Linked DNA regions of Homo sapiens: all the other regions are linked to region 1. The links are contacts of gene promoters, found by promoter capture Hi-C in blood cells and fetal thymus (Javierre and others, 2016). All regions are on one chromosome and are shown on one strand. Each heading gives the region's core, a stretch centred on a gene start or on the middle of the fragment in contact. The rest is flanking DNA. Distances are from core to core; before and after follow the strand shown.

What was found. The method cuts DNA at HindIII sites, captures the fragments that hold promoters and counts their contacts. A CHiCAGO score of 5 or more calls a contact.
Region 2: a contact is called between a fragment that was not itself captured here and the fragment with the promoter of CACNG2 in region 1, in 1 of 17 cell types (M1 macrophages). The highest score is 5.6, in M1 macrophages.
Region 3: a contact is called between a fragment that was not itself captured here and the fragment with the promoter of CACNG2 in region 1, in 2 of 17 cell types (M1 macrophages and M2 macrophages). The highest score is 5.8, in M1 macrophages.

What each region holds. Positions count from the first base shown.
Region 1 is chr22:36,701,243-36,705,443 of GRCh38, reverse strand. CACNG2 (calcium voltage-gated channel auxiliary subunit gamma 2) reads left to right here and starts at 1,692. Exons shown (of 4, transcript NM_006078.5): 1 at 1,692-3,078. The coding sequence starts at 2,868. It overlaps CACNG2-DT (CACNG2 divergent transcript), which reads right to left and starts at 1,568. Exons shown (of 4, transcript NR_134623.1): 1 at 1,452-1,568. The HindIII fragment of the contact is 12,752 bases long and covers 118-4,201 here.
Region 2 is chr22:36,539,578-36,543,778 of GRCh38, reverse strand. No RefSeq gene overlaps it. Among named protein-coding and RNA genes, the nearest start is that of EIF3D, 13 kb to the right of the region's middle. The HindIII fragment of the contact is 753 bases long and covers 1,803-2,555 here.
Region 3 is chr22:36,567,200-36,571,400 of GRCh38, reverse strand. The region is part of intron 2 of CACNG2 (calcium voltage-gated channel auxiliary subunit gamma 2); the gene reads left to right. Among named protein-coding and RNA genes, the nearest start is that of EIF3D, 40 kb to the right of the region's middle. RefSeq lists an enhancer at 458-1,049. The HindIII fragment of the contact is 9,308 bases long and covers 1-4,201 here.

The DNA of each region.
Region 1 (4,201 bases), core at 443-2,942:
AGTCTAAAGGGATTTTTGGACAGGTCAAAGACAACCAAGGTGACAGCAATAAGTGAGGGCAAGGCTCTTTGGCTCATGTGACTACCCCCAACCTTCTCTCCACTCCCCCCAAAAGCTTAGCCTATCTCAGAGGAGGACTTGTTGCCTGCCCCTCACCTTTGCTTCAAGGACAGAAGAAAATCAGCCACCTGAGCCACTGGCTGAACTTGCTAGGTTCCCTGCTGTATGGGATCAGCAGATTAGCCCTCTCCATTCCTGTACCCATCCCCATCTTCACAGGACAAGAAACCAAAGTGGAGAAGTCTTCAGCCTGCAAATATAGCTCTTGCTGTACCCCAAAGGTACCTTAGCAGAGGTTGAGGAAATCTTGGTTCTGTTCTCCAGACACCAGGACCCTCTCCCAGATACCAGAAGCACAGCAATTGCCCCTCATGGGAGCCTTTCCCTTCTAAGAAAAGAACAGAGTGGGAGAAAGGAAGTTTTGTGCTGGGCGAAGAAACAGGTAGTTTTTCTATGTCAAAAAAAATACACTGGTCATACCTGCAGACCAACTCTGACCTGAGCGAAGGAAGTTAGGCAATGGACTTTACACCAAAGAAAGACTGTTTTTAATTCACTCATCTTTTATATACCTCTGATAATCACCAGACCACTGAGAAAGATGTCAAGCAAATAATCTCAAGAAAAAAAGTAGAGGGAGAGAGAAGAAAGTACTGAATAATTGAATTATGGGATTGAAACCTCTCAACTCCCCCTGCCTCAATAGACTCATCATACTCACATCCTCTCCAGGGTCCCCCCCGCAACACACACACACACAAAATATCAAAAACATGAACCCATCTCATGCCTCATGTGCTCTTACTCACTTAACCATAAAAGTGATCAGAGAAAAAAATGTAATCCGTAGCAGCAGGAATTAATGTGCTTCTTTCTACCAGAGGTCACGTTAAGGAAAAGTTGCACATAAGAGAAATGAAAGGTGACACTGTAATTAACCCACAAACAATGATTCTTCTGAGAAAGAGGGGAGGGTTTCGGTGTTCCAGTGTTCATGGAAGGAAGATTTTTTATCTCTTCCCAACCAGTTTATGAATGACATAGGATACTTAGAAGGATTCACATTTCACCCACTTCCCCTGAGAACATGTTTATCCTTGCAATGAAAATCATTGCCCAAGCCCCAGCTACGAGTCGCCCTTTTGCACCCTTTTCCACGAATAATCTTCCCAAAATGTCTGCTTGTAGAAGCAAGATTTGGAATTTCACGGAAAACTACAGAGAGACACAGAGCAATGCACACCCCCTGGTAAGCCAGAGAGAGACAAAGAGAAGAGAGAGGAAAACCGAAAGAAGATACATCTAACGGACCAACAAAATAAAACAAATCCCCAGCAAAGCAAAGTGAAAACAATGATTTAAAAAACACATAAAGACGTGTTTGTAATTACCCGTCCAGGTTACATGTTCGCCGCTTCCAGGCAGAGAAACGGCTGGTTGAAGTTTTGTGCCCGTCTGACTGTGATGGGAGGGTTGTATTTGAAGCTCTGGGCACGTAGAGATGGAATGAGAAGGAGGCTGAGCTGGAAGAAACACCAAGGGGGGAGGGAAGGGGGGAGAGAGAGAGAGAGAGAGAGAGAGAAAGAGAGAGAGAGAGAGAGAGAGAGAGAGAGAGAGAGAGAGCGCGAGCTATCTCTAGCTACGCCTTCCTCTAAGCTCCGGGAGCCCAGGAGAGCGCTCATTTTAGGATTTGGGAGAGGGGTAAAAAGAGGAAAGGCGGCCCCCGCTCTGCGCTGGCCTTGCTGCCCCGGGGAGGGAGGACTCTGGCCAGCGCCCCCCTCCTGGCGGGCGGCCCTGGGAGCCAGCCGGGGAGCGCGCGGAGCGGGCGGCGCAGGGAGCTGTCCGGTTCAGCACCACCCGTAATGCAGTAGGTGGGAGCGCCTCCGCGGGCGCCCAGCCGGTAGCGAGTGGGGGGCAGGCGCGCGGCCCACCCTGCAGCAAGACGCCGGCTCCCTCGTTTCCAGGAGCTTTGCAGATAGGGGGAGGGAAATCCGCCTCGATTCTCCAGGAGAAACCCCCTCTCTCCCCCACTTCGCCAACACTACCCCCGCCACCAACAACAATAACCGCCGCCGCTGCTCGTCCTGCTGCCGCCGCCGCCGCCGCGCCTGCCCGCCCTGCCGCCGCCGCCGCCGCCGCCGCCGCTGCCCGGGCAAAACCATGGAAAGCGAGACCCCCGCACCTGTGCAGCTGAGCTCAAGGGCTTACAGAATACTGGGAAGTCTGGTCTGAAACGAAAGCGCCGAGACCCCCCAAGGAAGAGAACTGGCGAAGCAAAGGATTTTCATGGCGCAGGCCGCAGAGCCGAGAACGAAGACCGAAGGTTGCATCTCGGCTCTCACAGTCTCTAACTGTCTAGGTCCCGACCATGAGAAATGGTGTTGAGAATTCGGCTGTTCCCTGGTTCACTGTGGAAGCCATCTCCAAATTAACTATCACATATGGAAACTGGAGACCAGAATTTTAGAAAAAGAGATTAAGGCATCTCACTTGGGGGGGTGGGGGGTGTCTTTTTATTTTTTTTTTCCTTTTCTTTTTAAAAAAAAAACACTGCAACTGGAACAGTTTCTGATCTCAAAAGGCAAGCCTCTTCCCGTGTGATCTTTATAATTTACACTCTTTTCCGTGAGCTTTCTTACCTCCCTTTTTTTATAACTCTCCATATTCTCTATTCATACATATATCCATTATATTAGTAGTGGAATAATTTTTATTTTTATTTATTTTTTTTGGCTTTAGTACTTGCACCCTCACACACACTCTCCCGAGAACCAGAAGTCGGTTGGGTGTTTATATAATGAAGAATTATGGGGCTGTTTGATCGAGGTGTTCAAATGCTTTTAACCACCGTTGGTGCTTTCGCTGCCTTCAGCCTGATGACCATAGCTGTGGGAACCGACTATTGGCTCTACTCCAGAGGGGTTTGCAAGACCAAAAGTGTCAGTGAGAATGAAACCAGCAAAAAGAACGAGGAAGTTATGACCCATTCCGGATTATGGAGAACCTGCTGCCTAGAAGGTACTTGACTTCCCATCTCCTCCCCCCTCTCCACCCCACCCCTCCCCTTTCACTCCCCCCTCCCCACCCTCCTCCAAATAAGTCCCCTTTACATTCCACCATTTTCTTAGTTCACTCCTTCCACCACCAATCAAGGTTGGTTGGGTTAGTTTCAGAGGAAAGAAAATCAATAAGCAAAACCCATACTCTACTCCCTCGCCTCCGCCACCCCCTCATCCCCTCAAACATCCTCATTGGAATAATCTATGACATGGTGAAAACGACAAGAGATTGTCTCTAAAAGTCAAAGGTGTTCTGCCTGCTTTGGAGTCATTAGGATTTACCATCCGATTTAGCATTGCCATCTATGAGAGGGTAAAATAATTGCTTCTGTGTATGCTGTTTCTCTTTTCGCAATGAAGAATTCAAAAATGCTCTTCCCTTTTCCCTCCTCTTCTCCTTACTCCCCAAAAGTCCTAGACACACCACCATCTGCAAATCTCCTTATTTAAAAAAGAATATGTTGTTTCTAAGAATCCTTATTTGGTAAATCCTAATTATTCCAGGATCTCAAGCTGAGTTCAAGAGCATTTCGTAATGTCTATGAGCCACACATATCACTCGAGGTGGCTGGCTGCGTGTGTGTATTTGTGTATTTTAACGTTTACAAAGTCTAAAAATACATACGTCTCTCACAGGAAACAAGCCTAAGTTCTAATAAACAGCAATTCACTTGCGGGTTAGGCTTCCACAGAGTGACATGTCTGTCAGCCAGAAGCTAGTAGAGTCAGCATTGCAGCCGGCTTGAGAATCAGACATTGTGCAGGCAGGCAGGGAGGGAGGGAGGGGAGGGCATGGGGAGGTTGAGGGGGGAGTGGGGGTGTCAGCTCTTTGCCTTGATCTTGCGGAGTGTTGAGGCATGTGTGTCTGTGCTGTGGGCACAGGAGCCGCCACGGTGTAAAGGCTGGGGGATCACGCTATGGATGAAGGCATGTACTTCTGGGACACATTAATAAGCACAGAAAAAAAAACTCCTGTGGGTCATCCAACCTGCATTTGGCAACAGACTTTAGTATGAGGGACTGCATTTGAATGGCTATATATGTCTGTGTGTGCAAGCTACAGCCACCCATAGATAGACGTG
Region 2 (4,201 bases), core at 930-3,429, 160 kb after region 1:
AAAAAAAAAAATAGACTCTAGGTTACTTGATAGCATGGCAAGGTCTCCACCTGAACGCTGAGTGACCAACTCGGGGCCTGGTTCCTCACGAGTGACCAGTGATTGCTTTTTATTTATTTATTTTTTTTTTTTTTGAGACGGAGTCTCTCTCTGTCACCCAGGCTGGAGTGCAGTGGCATGATCTTGGCTCATTGCAAGCTTCGCCTCCCGGGTTCATGCCATTCTCCTGCCTCAGCCTCCCGAGTAGCTGGGACTACAGGCGCCCACCACCACACCCGGCTAATTTTTTGTATTTTTAGTAGAGACGAGGTTTCACCGTGTTAGCCAGGATGGTCTCGATCTTCTGACCTCGTGATCCACCTGCCTCGGCCTCCCAAAGTGCTGGGATTACAGACATGAGCCACGGTGCCCGGTCAGTGATTGCTTTTTAAATGTTGCGAGATCTTGCCCCAGCCAAAGCCCCTACTTCCAAGTTTCTGGTAACCAGAGTAACCCCACTGGCATGTATCAAGGGCTTATTTGCATGCCAGGCACTGCCTTAAGCATGTCACATATAAAATCTGACCTAATTCTATTCTCCCTCCCTCCCGAAGTGGTACATGCTATGATTCCATCTATTTTACAGATGAAGAAGCTATGGCTCAAATGGTCACACAACTTGCCCAAGGTCACACAACAGTGGTAAAAATTTAAATCGCTGGAATTCAAATTCAGTCAGTCTGACTCCCCAGATGTCTGCTTGCATTACAGTGATGTCAGACTGCTCCATGAGACCACCTTAAATATCACCTTGCGGTCACTCAGCCCCAGCCACAAGGCTCTCCAGGCACCCGCCGGGGCAGTGGGAACCAAGGCATGTGGTATGAAGAGATGAGAGACCGGATGCGGTGGCTCATGCCTGTCATCTCAGCATTTTGGGAGGCTGAGGAGGGCGGATCACCTGAGGTCAGGAGTTCGAGACCAGCCTGGCCAACATGGTGAAACTCTGTCTCTACTAAAAAACACAAAAATCCGCTGGGCCTGGTGGCAGGCACCTGCAATCCCAGCTACTCGGGAGGCTGAGGTGGGGAGAATTGCTTGAACCCAGGAGATGGAGGTTGCGGTGAGCTGAAATCGCACCACTGCACTCCAGCCTAGGCAACAGAGAGAGACTCCATCTCAAAAAAAAAAAAAAAAAAAAAAAACAGAGATGAGAACAACACTGTGCTGCAGAAAGTGGGGGCCTGAGGTTCAGAGAGGGGCACCTACTAGCCCACAGCTGTGCGGCCAGATCGAGCCAAAATCAGTATTTATCTTTGGCCCTAAGACCCCAAATCCCAGCTTCCAACAGAAGAAAACATATGGGGCAGAGAGAAGGAGCCAAGGAGAGGCCTGGTTATTGCTCATCCCATTGAAACAGTCAAACACTCTCTAAACTAGCTAAATGGTTCTGAAGGAAATGGGAATCTATTTTGTCTCCTGTCGCCAGGCCTGCAAATCCTGATATATCTCAGGCCACGGCAGCGAAGCGGATGGCTCAGCACTTGGAGACATGCCCACACGAGGCAGGAAGTAGGGTGGATGATTCAACAGGTACCTCTCTATTCTGAGAACTGGTCCTGTGATGGGTGAGTGTACATGCAGCTGAAATAAAAAATGATTTAGAATGTCGACCACTGGAACGCACAGCAAAGCCTCCCTTTCTTCCTGGGGGACTTGTGGCATTCTTTGGGGCTTTAATCTTTCCAGGTTTTCTAGTTCTGAAATTTTGCTGAGACAACAAGGTTCTTGGGAGGCTGGGGTGGGCTGGTGGCTCCAAAGCTTCCTTTCCTGCTGGCACAGCCTCCAACAGGATGATAAAATGGCTGCCGTCCTACCTGGGACACCATGTTCCTTGCCCTCAGTCTTCCTCATCTGCAGAATGGGGGTAGTGATCTCTGCCTAACCGAGACAGAAAAGTTTGGTACAGGTAGCACAGCTCCACAATTTCTTATCTGAAATCCTCGCGGCTCAATGTGCTTTATCAATTTATGTATTTTATTTTATATTTTATTTATTTTGAGACACAGTTTCACTCTGTCGGCCAGGCTGGAGTGCAGTGGCCCGATTTTGGCTCACTGTAACCTCCACCTCCTGGGTTCAAGCGATTCTCATGCCTCAGCCTCCCCCAGTAGCTGGGATTACAGGGACCCACCACCACGCCTGGCTAATTTTTGTATTTTAGTAGAGATGAGGTTTCACCCAGGCTGGTCTCAAACTACTGACTTCTGGTGAGCTGCCCGCCTTGGGCTCCCAAAGTGCTGGGATTACAGGTCTGAAGCCACCACATCCGGCCTCAATGTGCTTTATAACTTGGAATTCTTTGGATTCCTGAAAGGTTTTCGAGTGGATCTACCGCATATCAGGTGACATGCCAGTGAGCTCTGGAGCAATATTCCATAAACCCTTTAATTTTTCTGCAGCAAAATGTATAAATATTCACGCTAAGTGGGACAAAATAAAGACTATAAATAACCTCACATCCAATTCATATCAGGTTTGCCATCAAATGCTTGCCCCAATCTCATGAAAAAGCTTTAGATTTTCAGAGCTTTGTGGGTTTTGGAATTGTGCATGGAGAGTGCCAGCTTTGGTTTCAGCCACACCTGGGTTTCCATTCCAAATGCACCCTGACCAGCTGGCTCACCTGGGGCAAGACATTCCTCCTCTCTGAGCCTCAGTGTTCTCGTCTATAAAATGGGGTGATGATTCCTATGGTGCTTCTTAAAAGATAAGCAAGGAAACGCAAGTTGCCACTCTGGAAGAGAGGTTGGCCACACTGACCGGTCCCAATGAGGTGAATCCACCACAGGATATCCGGGATCTTTCTGCACACAAGGCGGTGGCAGACTCCCTTTGACCAAACTTACAAGGCTGACGCATAGCAGAAGATCCATTTATTATTGGAGAGCACAGTAAATACCCCACCAGCAGAATGGAGCACTTCCATCAGCCTAACCAGCACGTGCTTCCCTACAGCACAAGTTCCATGAGGATCCACGGTGTCACAGCACTGCTTGGTGGCAGGGAGTCAGAATAAACAACAGCATTAAGAAGCATTTATCGGCCAGGCACGGTGGCTCACGCCTGTAATCCCAGCACTTTGGGAGGCCGAGGCGGGCGGATCATGAGGTCAGGAATTCGAGACCAGCCTGACCAACGTGGTGAAACCCCATCTCTACTAAAAATACAAAAATTAGCCAGGCATGGTGGCAGGCACCTGTAATCCCAGCTACTAGGGAGGCTGAGGCATAAGAATCACTTGAACCTGGGAGGCAGAGGTTGCAGTGAGCCAAGATTGCACCACTGCACTCCAGCCTGGGTGACACAGCCAGACTCCATCTCAAAAAAAAAAAAAAAAAAAAGTGTTTATCACAGAGCAGCTTGAAGCCACCTCTGTTTTGGGAGGACAGTCTTACCCGGGGAATGGGGATGATGCTTGAGCCAGCGCAACCAAGAACCTGTGCCCTGGACAATGCCAGCCCTGGCTCTGTGACCATCCCCTTCCTAAATGTCCCCTACTGAGGGACACTTCCATTCACTCTTTCTCCAAAGTTGCAAGGTAACTGACCAGGTTCCCCTTGGTAAACTAGGATCGTATTCCAGGCCTCCCCCTCTGAGCCAGACTCCTTCAGAAACTTTGCCTGGCATTGATGTACCCCACACTCTTCAGTCATGTTTGCAGATAACCAAACTGATGACTCTTAGAAAAGGCCAGTCTGCATCCATGGCAGAGTTCATACCCCTAAGATGGCCACGACAATACCTCCCACTCCACATACTTGTTCCATAACTTTGTGCCTTACCCAGCAAGAAATTCAGTCTCTGTCCTCCCTCGCCCTTGACTCTAGGCAGGCTTGTGACTCACTTGGAACCAACAAGTTACGGGGATGGGAGAGATGCTGTATAACTTCGGAGGCTAGATCACAGAAGGCAGCATGGCTTCCAGCTTGTTCGCCAGAATACTTGCTCTGAACTCCCCACATGGACTCACTACAGAATGACCCTGAGGCTAAATGGAGAGAGAGAAAAACAGAAGCTCCACCCACACCAAACTATAATGCATGAGAGACCCCAGGTCAGAACCACCCAGCCAAGCCCTCTCCCAATTCCTGACCCACAGAAACTAAGAGATATAATAAAAAGACTGTTGTTGTTTTAAACCACTAAATTTTGGTGTGAT
Region 3 (4,201 bases), core at 450-2,949, 130 kb after region 1:
ACTGCAACCTCTGCCTCCCGGGTTCAAGCGGTTCTCCTGCCTCAGCCTCCCAAGTAGCTGAGATTACAGGCACTTACCGTCACGCCCGGCTAATTTTTGTATTTTTAGTAGAAGCAAGGTTTCGCCATGCTGGCCAGGTTGGTCTCGAACTCCTGACTTCATGTGATCCGCTCACCTCAGCATCCCAAAGTGCTGGGATTACAGGCATGAGCCACCATGCCTGGCAGGGCTGCCTTTCTAATCAGATGCCAATGCCGCTGGGCCTCAGGCCACACTTGCAGCAGCAAGGCCTTACAACATTCCTATAAGCTAAATATTATTTTTACTATTCCCATTTCACAGGATGGGGAAACTGAGGCTCAGAGCAGTAATGACCCTTGCCCAAGGGTCACACTGTTGATAACTGACAAAGCGAGGATTCAAAGTCAAGTGTGACTAACTCCAAAATCCCCATTCCGTTTGTGACACTACCCAGCCAGAAATACCTCCTTCAAGAAACGTCTCCAATGTAGAAGTCCCTGCTTGCTCCTAAACCAGCTTCCTTCCCACCTGGATCTGGGCCCTGCCAAGTCTAGTGGCCTAAGCATGGTGCTATTTGCTGGTTGCCCACTGTTGCCTTTTTTTTTTTTTTTTTTTTTGAGATGGAGTCTTGCTCTGTTGCCCAGGCTGGGGTGCAGTGGCGCGATCTCAGCTCACTGCAACCTCCGCCTCCCAAGTTGAAGCTATCTTCCTGCCTCAGCACCCCCAGTAGCTGAGACTACTGACACGCACCACCATGCCCGGCTAATTTTTGTGTTTTTTTCAGTAGAGACGGGGTTTCACCATGTTAGCCAGGCTGGTCTCGAACTCCTGACCTCAGGTGATCCACCCACCTCTGCCTCCCAAAGTGCTGGGATTACAGGCGTGAGCCACCGCGCCCGGCCTGTTGCCTTCTTTCTGGGCAAAGAGGCCTCTTCCACGAAAGGCCAGAGCTTGGGGCTGGCTCTTCTGTGCCGAAGAGGCTTCTGTTTGTATTCCCCGCTGGTGGTCATTATTTAGAGCATGTCATACGCTGCCTTGGTGGCTTCTGAAGCCGTTCTGATTCCTCCACATTGCTCTTTGCTGGCTGCAACACAGCAGACCCCTCCCTGCTCTCCCGCCGCCCTCCATCTTGTCCACACATGCCTGGCCTCTGGCTGCCCACACGCATGCATCCCAGCTCCCTCCGCAGCCGACGCTCCCTCCCCCTGCTGGCAGGAGGGCTGAGCTGGGGCATCCGGGTTCCCACAGCAGATGGGGCTCAACTGGAAAAATCAAGCCCTGGGCTGCTGTGAGTCCATTTGCTGTGAGGGCACAATTGGGTCGGCGACCTGCAGGCATCCTGTGGGTAGTAAGACCCCACTTTCTTGGAGGGGGAAGGCCAGAGCCTTTCTTCTGCCTGTTCCTCTGAGCTGCTGCTGCTGCGCCTCGGAAGCCACACCGACCTCTTTCTTTCTTTCCTTCTCTCTTCTGTCATTCCCCTTTGTGGCTGGCCAGGACCATGTCCACATGGAAAGGGCAGAGCTATTAGAAACTATCTAACGGCCGGGCGCGGTGGCTCAGGCCTGTAATCCCAGCACTTTGGAAGGCCGAGGCCGGTGGATCACCTGAGGTCATGAGTTTGAGACCAGCCTGGCCAACATGGCGAAAACCCATCTCTACTAAAAATACAAAAATTAGCCGGACATGGTGGCGGGCGCCTATAATCCCAGCTACTTGGGAGGCTGAGGCAGGAGAATTGCTTGAACCCCGAAGACGGAGGTTGCAGTGAGTCAAGATCACGCCACTGCACTCCAGCCTGGGGTATAGAGCAAGACTCTGTATCTAAAACAAACAAACAAAAAGAAACCATCTAACAGGCCATACCCCATGTTACACAGGGGAAAAACAGAGGAAGTGAGCACCCGCCTTAGCCACACAGCAAGTGAGTGGCACAGGTGGGACCCAAACCCAGTTCTCCAGGCCCTGTGGCACTCACCCTTCCTGGGCTCCTTGGAAGCCACATAGGGAGACTACAGGGTGCTCCAAAAGTTGAGCTGGTCTGGATATGAATCCTGGTTCACTAGCTGGGTGGCAGGGGAGTTTCTCTCTCTGAACCTCAATTTTCTTGTCTGTAAATTGGGGCAAAAAAACACACCCTGCCGGACTGTTATGAGGATGAAATTATATCATATATGTTAGGTACCTGCTCAAGACCCAACACCGAATGGGTGTTTAACAAATATTCTCTCTCTTCTCCTGGGTTTTCAGTAAGCTCTCACCATCCTCATGTGCTTATAAAGATGAGAGTTAAGGTGGCTTTTTAGTCATGCATGTCTGTCACGCGTGGGTGTGGATGTGGGTGTGTTTGGGCTGGGGGATCAGGTTAGGGATACAGCGTGTTGTCTTAGCAATGATTTGCAAGGAGAGAACACCTCCCTGGGGTCTGTGGAGGAGCAGCCCCATCCCGCCCAAGAGAAGGAGGGTGCTGAGGCTGCAGAGTAGCCCAGCCACCCCAAGCCCCCATCCTCCCACCCCTGCTTCCCTATATGCAGCTCAGTTTTGCCCCAAGAGCCCTGCCCTTCTTCAGGTCCCCCCCAAATAACCCACTCACCCATTTGTGAGCAGTGTAGACTATGCTGCAGATCCATGGTGAGGACAGAAGAAGAGTTTTCACATCACACACATCTCAGCAAACTGCCTAAAATCCCCTTTTAACGCCTGTAATCCCAGCACTTTGGGAGGCCGAGGCGGGCAGATCACTTGAGGTCAGGAGTTCAAGACCAGCCTGGCCAACATAGCGAAACCCCGTCTCTACTAAAAATACAAAAACTAGCCAGGTGTGATGGCGCACACCTGTAGTCCCACCTACTTGGGAGGCTGAGGCAGGAGAATCGCTTGAACCTGGGAGGTGGAGGCTGCAGTGAGCCGAGATCACACCACTACACTCCAGCCTGGGCAACAGAGCAAGACTCCATCTCAAAAAATAAAAATAAAAATAAATTTTAAAAAAGAAAAAGAAAAATCCCTACAGTTCTATATAGAGAAATTCTCTTCTCACAGATCCTTCTTGAACACACTCCCACCCAAAAGGGTGGGGACGGGGATGGGGATAAGAGGAAGCTCCGCTCCTGGCACATTCCCCTCCAAAACCAACCTCCCTGACCAATCCCTGGGCTTGGCCAAAGGGTCCTGTAATTATCAGGACTCAACTTCCTTAGAAACCACTTAAGCACCATTTAAAGAAGACATCTTTGGCCAGGCACGGTGGCTCAAGCCTGTAATCCCAGCACTTTGGGAGGCCAAGGTGGGCAGATCATGAGGTCAAGAGTTTGAGACCAGCCTGGCCAACATAGTGAAACCCCATCTCTACTAAAAGTACAAAAATTAGCCAAGCATGGTGGTACACGCCTGTAGTCCCAGCTACTTGGGAGGCTGAGGCAGGAGAATCACTTGAACCCAGGAGGCAGAAGTTGCAGTGAGCCGAGATTGCACCACTGCACTCCAGCCTGGGTGACAGGGGAAGACTCCGTCTCAAAAAATAATAATAATAAAGAAGACATATTTTCCCTCACCCCTGCCTCAAGCCAGCTCTGCCTCCTGCCTAGCCCATGGCTCCCAGGACACGGAGCTGGGTCCTGAGGTCACTCACTGCCTATTTGAATTTGGATTAAAAAAAAAATGTTTTACTTCGCAAAGACACTTTGTGAAGGGCTCCCCAACACCTCTGGGTCCTCATTCAGGTGCTGCTCCCCCCACAAACACATGTAGCCCCGACCTCTGCCCTTAGCCACCTGTCCCCCTTTTCCCCCATCCACCCCCAACTGTAGGAGCCCTGGCCCTCACCTTCTGTTTCTCCCTTTTCATTACCATATTCTTTTCTTCTCCGGTCCTGTTTGTCAGTCCTTATCTAGAGGGGTTTCTCTTCTTACTTTGTTTTCTTTGCAATGTGCCTGTTCCTTCCTTCTGGACCACGACCCCACATTTATTCACTTAATGAGCTTCTATTGGCAGACTACTGTGTCGTTGAACAGAGAGGATAAAGACAAGAAACTTTTTCTTTGTAAAGCCACAGTCCTTGTCTCACGACCCATGGTTCATGGTGGAAGCATATGTATACACAAATATTTATTATAATATCATGCATTGAATGTTTATTATAGACACCAGAAACTTATCTAAGTGCATTGCCTGAATCAACTCA